2 separate regions of the Homo sapiens genome follow, and region 1 is linked to region 2. Evidence: promoter capture Hi-C in human tissues and cell types (Jung and others, 2019). All regions are on one chromosome and are shown on one strand. Each heading gives the region's core, a stretch centred on a gene start or on the middle of the fragment in contact. The rest is flanking DNA. Distances are from core to core; before and after follow the strand shown.

Region 1 (3,354 bases), core at 427-2,926, 1.6 Mb before region 2:
TAGAAAAAGATGGGGAGCATGGGGTGTAGACCGTGCCATATAGAGCCTTGTTAGTAAGAATTCTAATGAGAAGTCATTGGATTTTAAGCAGAAGAGTGGCACAATCAGATTTTTCTTTTTTTTTTTTAAGAGATGGGGTCTTGCTATATCGGCTAGGTTGGTCTTGAACTCCTGGCCTCAAGCATTCCTCCCACCTCAGCCTCCCAAACTGCTAGGATTACAAGTGTGAGCCACCGCACCCCGTCAGCACAATCAGACTGACATTCGAAGAGCATTATTGGTTGGCTGTATTGAGAACAGATTGCAAGGGGGCAAGGGCCAAGAGACCAATTAGGGTGGTGTTATTCTGCCGTGCATACTATTCCAGGCAACTTGGGATTTTTCCTACTAAAAATATGTCTTAGAGATGTTTTCATGTTATTTTCTAGAGCTCTACCTTATTCCTTGTATCTGCTTCATGTTATTTCATAGACTGGATGATATTGTTATAATTAACCATTTATCAGTTAGTTGATGGACATTTGGGTAGTTTCTACTGTCTTACTATTACAAACAATGCTATAATGAAAATCTTTGTATGTGCCTCTTTGTGGTACACATAGATATCAAGAAGTAGAATTATCAAATTTGTACCCTATACCAGCTAAGAGTAAAAAAATAATAATTATAAAATTTGATTATCAATCCTGTTGGGATTTTGATTGGTACTGCCTGGATTTGGTTTCTTTGGGAAAGAATTTATATCTTTATACAGGTTGAGCATCCCTAATCCAAAAATCAGAAATAATCCAAAATCTGAAACTTCTTGAGTGCTGACATGACACTACAAGTGGTAAGATTCCACACCTGACACCTTTGCTCTCCGATGGTTCAATGTATACCAACTTTATTTCACAGACAAAATTATTCAAAATATTATATACAGTTACCTTTAGGCTGTGTATATAAGGTATATATGAAACATAAATTGATTTCTTGTTTAGATTTAGACCCCATCCCCCAGATATCTCATTATGTATATGCAACTATTCTAAAATCTGAGAAAATTTGAAATCTGAAACACTTCTGGTTCCAAGCATTTCACATAACAGATATTCAACCTGTAATAGTAAGGCTTCACATCCAAGAACAGGACATATTGTTCTATGAACGTTAATGGTTTTTTTTTTTCACAGAGATCTTACACATTTCTTGCTCAAAATATAGTAAAAGTTACTAATTTTCATGTGTTGAATTTGTTTGATCCTCAGGTGTTTCTTTTATTTTCTCTAGTGACTTCTTGCTGCTAGTTTTGAAGGACATTGTATCGCAGAGGCCAGGTCTTCAAGTTATTTTAATGAGTGCAACTCTAAACGCTGAGCTTTTTTCAGACTATTTTAATTCCTGCCCCGTTATTACTATACCAGGTGAATAAAATGCATCATTAAATATGTATCATTCTAATAAGCAAATATAATTATTTTAAAGTTTGAGACATAAGTAGATATTTATACCTCTTTCTAGAGAAGCGATTCATTTATAACATAAAATCATAAACCATATAATGCAGCTGATAAGGAGGTAACATATCTTGCTGGGAGATTTTTTTTTTTGAGACAGAGTCTCGCTCTGTCACCCAGGCTGGAGTGCAGTGGCGTGATCTCGGCTCACTGCAACCTCTGCCTCCCGGGTTCATGCCATTCTCCTGCCTCAGCCTCCCGAGTAGCTGGGACTACAGGTGCCCGCCACCTCACCCAGCTAATTTTTTGTATTTTTAGTAGAGACGGGGTTTCACTGTGTTAGCCAGGATGGTCTCCATCTCCTGACCTCACGATCTGCCCGCCTCGGCCTCCCAAAGTGCTGGGATTACAGGTGTGAGCCACTGCACCCGGCCATTGCTGGGAGATTTTAATTTTTTTAGGGGACTTTTAAAAAAAGTCATAGTTACTTATTTCTAGCATTCCATTGTGTTTAACATCAAAGTTGATAGTGGCAGTCTGTCATAAAGAGGGAACTTGTGTCTGTGACAGTATATTTGTTCATTTCTGGATTCTGCTAAATTTCTGGGTGTTGGTCCACTCTGGCAGAAAGTGACATTGGACAGTCTGTGTTTTCTTTGGGCACTTCCACAGTCTCATTGTGGAATTAATTTATCACCCTGAGCTTTGATTTATCCTTCTTCAATTGAATACTAAAAAGACACTTTGGAAACACTGACTGATAAAAAATAGTGCAGTTTGTTTTAGTTATAGGGAATGCTGGCAGTAAATCTAAGGAAGAAACTTTGTGTTTGATCTAGAATACAACTGTTGAATGTTTAAAGGTCCTCTATGGTGGAAGTGGCGGGGGCAGGGGAGGAGGGTATGAAAGGTGTAACAGGTAAAAGAAAAAAAGTCTTAGCAAAGGATCATTTCTCTACCTATACACTGCTTCTGTTTACTGACTGAAATCTGCCCTTTCCAATTTCTGTTACCAGAACTTTTCTTCTTGATACTTTTAAGACCACAGAACAAATAGGACGTTAGCATGACAAGCTTTAAGAGAATTTTATATATATAAACTATTTCAAGATGGTTGAATGGGTGTTCTCAGGCTTTCTATTTTGTCTCCTTGTTTTTCTAGGTCGTACATTTCCTGTTGATCAATTTTTTTTGGAAGATGCAATTGCTGTGACAAGGTAAGGAAGATATTAATTAAGATTCAGTGAAAGGACCTGGCATGGTGGTTCATCCCTGTAATTCTAGCACTTTGGAAGGCAAAGGTGGGAGGATCTTTTGGGGCCAGTTCAAGACCAGCTTGGGCAACATATTGGGACCCCCATCTATTGAGAAAAAAAAAAAGATTCAGTGAAACTTTGAAAACAGAATAATATTTGACCCTCAATGTGCCAGAATACTAATACATGTGTTAGTCTTTTTTTCTAATTTTTCTGCACTTGATTTCAGCCAAAAAGCCAAGAAGTGATTTTCTTCTATTTTTTCTGTTTGAACATTTTGTTCTCCCCTCTCTTTCAGCAAACAGACTGCCAATATTTAAGTCCCTCTACTTACTTTTTCTTTCTTTCTTTTTTTTTTTTTTTGAGATAGAGTCTTACTCTGTTGCCCAGGCTGGTGTGCAGTGGTGTAATCATAGCTCACTGCAGCCTCGAATACCTGGCTCAAGCAGTCCTTCTACTTCAGCCTCCTGAGTAGCTGAACTACAGACACACACCCCCATGCCTAATTTTTTTTAATGGTTTTGTAGAGACGGGTCTCATTATGTTGCCCAGGCTGGTCTCAAACTCCTGACCTCAAGCAGTCCTCCTGCCTTGCCTCCCGAAGTGCTGGGATTACAGTCATGAGCCACCATGCCTGGCCCCCTCTACTTACTATAACT
Region 2 (3,593 bases), core at 82-2,581:
GAGGTCATATTTCAACCCAGCAAAAGATGAAATATTCTAAAATAAAGGACTATAGGCTTTCACCAAATGGCTCTGTAGAACAGACAAGGAAACGTGGGTCAGAAAGCTGTGACTGTGCCTAATCCTAGAACAGTGAAGACGACCCAGACTGCATTCTCAACTGCACATGTGAGAAAACCCAGCACATGTCTCCAATGCCAGCTGAAGCCATTCCAACACAGACGACTTTCCAGGCAGTAATTCCTATTTCCAGCTGCCTGTTGGAGATTTCTACCTAAGAGTCCCACACACTTCAAATTCATATACCAGCCTGAACTCTCCATCCTTCCTCCCGTATTCCTTCTCCCAAAGCAATGAATCCACACCACCCACCATCAGCCAAGTAGGAAAGTCATCCTTCCCGCATCATAAATCCAATCAGCTACATTCTGTCTCCTAAACACCCTTGGACCGTGTCCTCTCCTCTTTACTGGCACTGCCTCTGACGTGAGCCAGCCCTGACCAACTGACAAATTATCTGTCCCCAGGTCCTCAGAAATGGCTCTTCCCCTGGCAGGCACCCCCACTGCCTGGGCTGAGAACCTTCGGGCTTCTCCCTCCTGGCTTGCACCTCGCAAATCGGCTAGAGAGGGCCTAGTCCTCGGGCTACCCGACCCATACCTTGGCTGGATTAGTCAACACCTCCTTCATGTACTCGGCCACAGTGATGGGACCAGTAGACTTTATTTTGTACATAAGATGCCGCAGCATCGGCGTCACCGGGTTTTCTGCAGGCTCATTCCCGGAGCTGAAGTATTTCCCTCTCCAAATAAAAGGAATGGCTGCGAAAAACACAAATTAAACAGACCCCATGATAAATCTGACCATTCACGAGCGCAAGCCGCCTGAGCGTTTTCAAAACAGCTTCGTGAACCCTTAACCTCGCCCCACCGCAGACCGCGGGCTACTGTGCTTAGCACGCCCACGGGGCGCAGAGACAGCACCCACTTGCCCACGACTACGCAGCCCTATTGCGTTTGTACCGGACCCGTTTCCAGCCCAGGGTACCTTCAAGGTGGAAGTGAGCCCCCGAGCCCTTGATCCCCCGGTACCCTCAACTGAAGAGCTGAGGAAGGCGCCCCACGCGGCTTCCACGGCAACCGGGCTTCGAGGGGACTGACGCTTACCTGCGCGCGCCACGGCACACAACGGCCCCAAACCTGACCTCAGCAGTACACTCATGCTGAAATTCGCAGGCTAGCTCGCTCCGCCAGGAGCTGGGGCTTAGACCATTTCCGGGAGAAGACACGCCCCGACAGGAATTACGCCACTGGCAGAGCGGAAATAGGCTGAGTTTCACGCGCGTATGCTTTGCCCGCCATGGCCGCAGTCAAGGAGCCTTTGGAGTTCCATGCCAAGCGGCCTTGGCGCCCCGAGGAGGCAGTAGAAGATCCGGACGAGGAGGATGAGGATAATACTAGTGAAGCCGAGAATGGGTTCTCCCTGGAGGAAGTGTTACGGCTCGGAGGCACCAAGGTAACGGCCGCGGGCTCCGGGGAACGGGATCAGGCGTGGAGAGTTCCGAAGGTGGCTAGGCTGACTGCCCCGCCGCTTCCGCGCTGCGTAGAGCGCGGGCGTCCAGGACCGAGATCCCAGCCTCTGAAGCATGTGTTCGGTGCGCTTCCCACGCCGGTTTCCACTGCTGTTTACAAAAGAAAAGTTTCGAATTGAACGTTGTATTCTCTGGCTATTCTTAGGATGTAGGCGATCTTCTGATTTTATTGACGTGGTATAACCATCACACCATCAGGTCGGAGAGTGGCTTTTCTTGGTCCTGACCTTGTGGTATGAGTGTTTTGAACACCAGTGGTATTGGAATTTTCATTTCTGTTCTCATAGAGTACATGCACGTGTCACTGTATGCCCCAGAAGCCCTCTTTTTTGGAGCATCCTAATTAAGGGAGAGAAACAGTAAACAAACTTTTAAACACATAGTACAGCAGACGCGGGGTAGTGCTATAAAAGAAAATAAAACAAGGAAGGACGATAAGGAGTGGGAGCGCGTTAGTATTAAATGAGATGATCGACAAACACATCACGGAAATGTTTGAGCAGAATCCTAAAGGACAGGAAGGAGTGAGCTGCCATTCCAGTCAGTTGGAACAGCAAATGCAAAGACAGGCAGAAGAGTGCCTAACCTATTCCATGAGCAGCCAAAATGCCAGTGTAGCAGAGGCAGAGTGAGTTAAGGGGAGAATAGTAAGAAAGGAGGGCCGAGGGGTCAGAGGGCAGGCTTTTGCTCTGAGTTTGATGCAAAACCACTGGAAGATTTTAAGCAGATAAGGAACAGAAATTAACTTTGTTTTTAATATTATTTTGTTTGGAGACTGGACTTTCAAGGTGGAGGAGTTAGTTAGAGATAGGCAGATTCACAGTTTGCTCTGTGCTTGTGTATATTTAAGTTTTGAATAGGTAATATATACACATGAAACACGTGGTGCAAACTTTAAAAGATACATAGTGAAGTCAAATTGTTTCCACTTTTATCTCAGCCATAACCATTGCCCTGATAGGAAGCAATTATTTTTACAACTGCATTTTATATCTTTCAGGGATACTATATACCTTTTCAAGCATATACATACTCATTTATGTGTATGAAATACGGGTGTATCTTTTTTACATAAATGGTACCATATATATACACCTATCTCTACATTTTGCTTTCTTTTCTGTCTTAGAAATCCTTCTATATCAGTGCATAACGTTCTGTGTCATTGCTATGGCTGCATAAATCATTTTGTCTGTCTTAATTTATCTAACCAGCCATTTATTGTGAATATTTAAATTATTGCCAGTCTTTCACTATTTTAAATAATACTACAGTTAATAACCTTAATCGTGTTTTTCCCCCACTTTTGTAAGTGTATATGTAGTATAAATTTGTAGAAATGAGCCAGGCACAGTGGCTCACACCCATAATCCCAGCACTTTGGGAGTCAGAGGTGGGAGGATACCTTGAGTCCAGGAGTTTGAGACCAGCCTGGGCAACATAAGGAGACCTCATCTCAAAAAAAAATTTTTTTTTTAAATAGCTGGGCGTGTAGTGCCAGCTACAGGCTGAGGTTGGAGGATCACTTCAGCCTGGGAGGTTGAGGCTGCAGTTCAGCCATGGTCATGCCACTGTACTCAAGCCTGGACAACAGAGCGAGACCATGTCTCAATCAGTTAGTTAATTTTTAGAAATGAAGCTGCTGGGCCAACAGATGTGTGCCTTGTATTAAATAGTTGTGATTGGAGTTGACAAATTGTCCTCCATGGAGGTTGTGTCAGTTTACACTCACATCAACCATGTATGAAAGTGCCGTTTCCGCCACCCCTTCCCCAGCATCACCTGTCATTGTATCTTGCTCATCTTGCAGTGTATCTTTGCTCATCTGATAAATTAAAAGATGGATGTATCATTGTGGTTTTAATGTGGATTTGTCTAAACCTCAGTGAGGTTGAACATCTTTTCATATTCTTAAAGAACCCTTTTTTTCTATGAACTGTTCATGTCCTTTGCACATTTTTCTTTTGGGTTGTCACTTACTGATGTGTAGAAACTTATATTA

Evidence for each region. The method cuts DNA at HindIII sites, captures the fragments that hold promoters and counts their contacts. A contact is called where the count stands out against the background at its distance.
Region 1: a contact is called between a fragment that was not itself captured here and the fragment with the promoter of CEBPZ in region 2, in 1 of the 25 tissues and cell types used here (heart right ventricle).

Annotation. Positions count from the first base shown.
Region 1 is chr2:38,846,321-38,849,674 of GRCh38, reverse strand. It overlaps DHX57 (DExH-box helicase 57), which reads left to right. Exons shown (of 24, transcript NM_198963.3): 10 at 1,273-1,406; 11 at 2,602-2,656. All of the region lies in intron 2 of LOC105374470 (a long non-coding RNA gene), which reads right to left. Among named protein-coding and RNA genes, the nearest start is that of DHX57, 28 kb to the left of the region's middle. The HindIII fragment of the contact is 5,686 bases long and covers 1-3,354 here.
Region 2 is chr2:37,229,334-37,232,926 of GRCh38, reverse strand. CEBPZ (CCAAT enhancer binding protein zeta) reads left to right here and starts at 1,331. Exons shown (of 16, transcript NM_005760.3): 1 at 1,331-1,515. The coding sequence starts at 1,360. NDUFAF7 (NADH:ubiquinone oxidoreductase complex assembly factor 7) reads right to left here and starts at 1,269. Exons shown (of 10, transcript NM_144736.5): 1 at 1,167-1,269; 2 at 661-821. The coding sequence starts at 1,221. RefSeq lists enhancers at 1,380-1,829, 787-1,986. The HindIII fragment of the contact is 15,525 bases long and covers 1-3,593 here.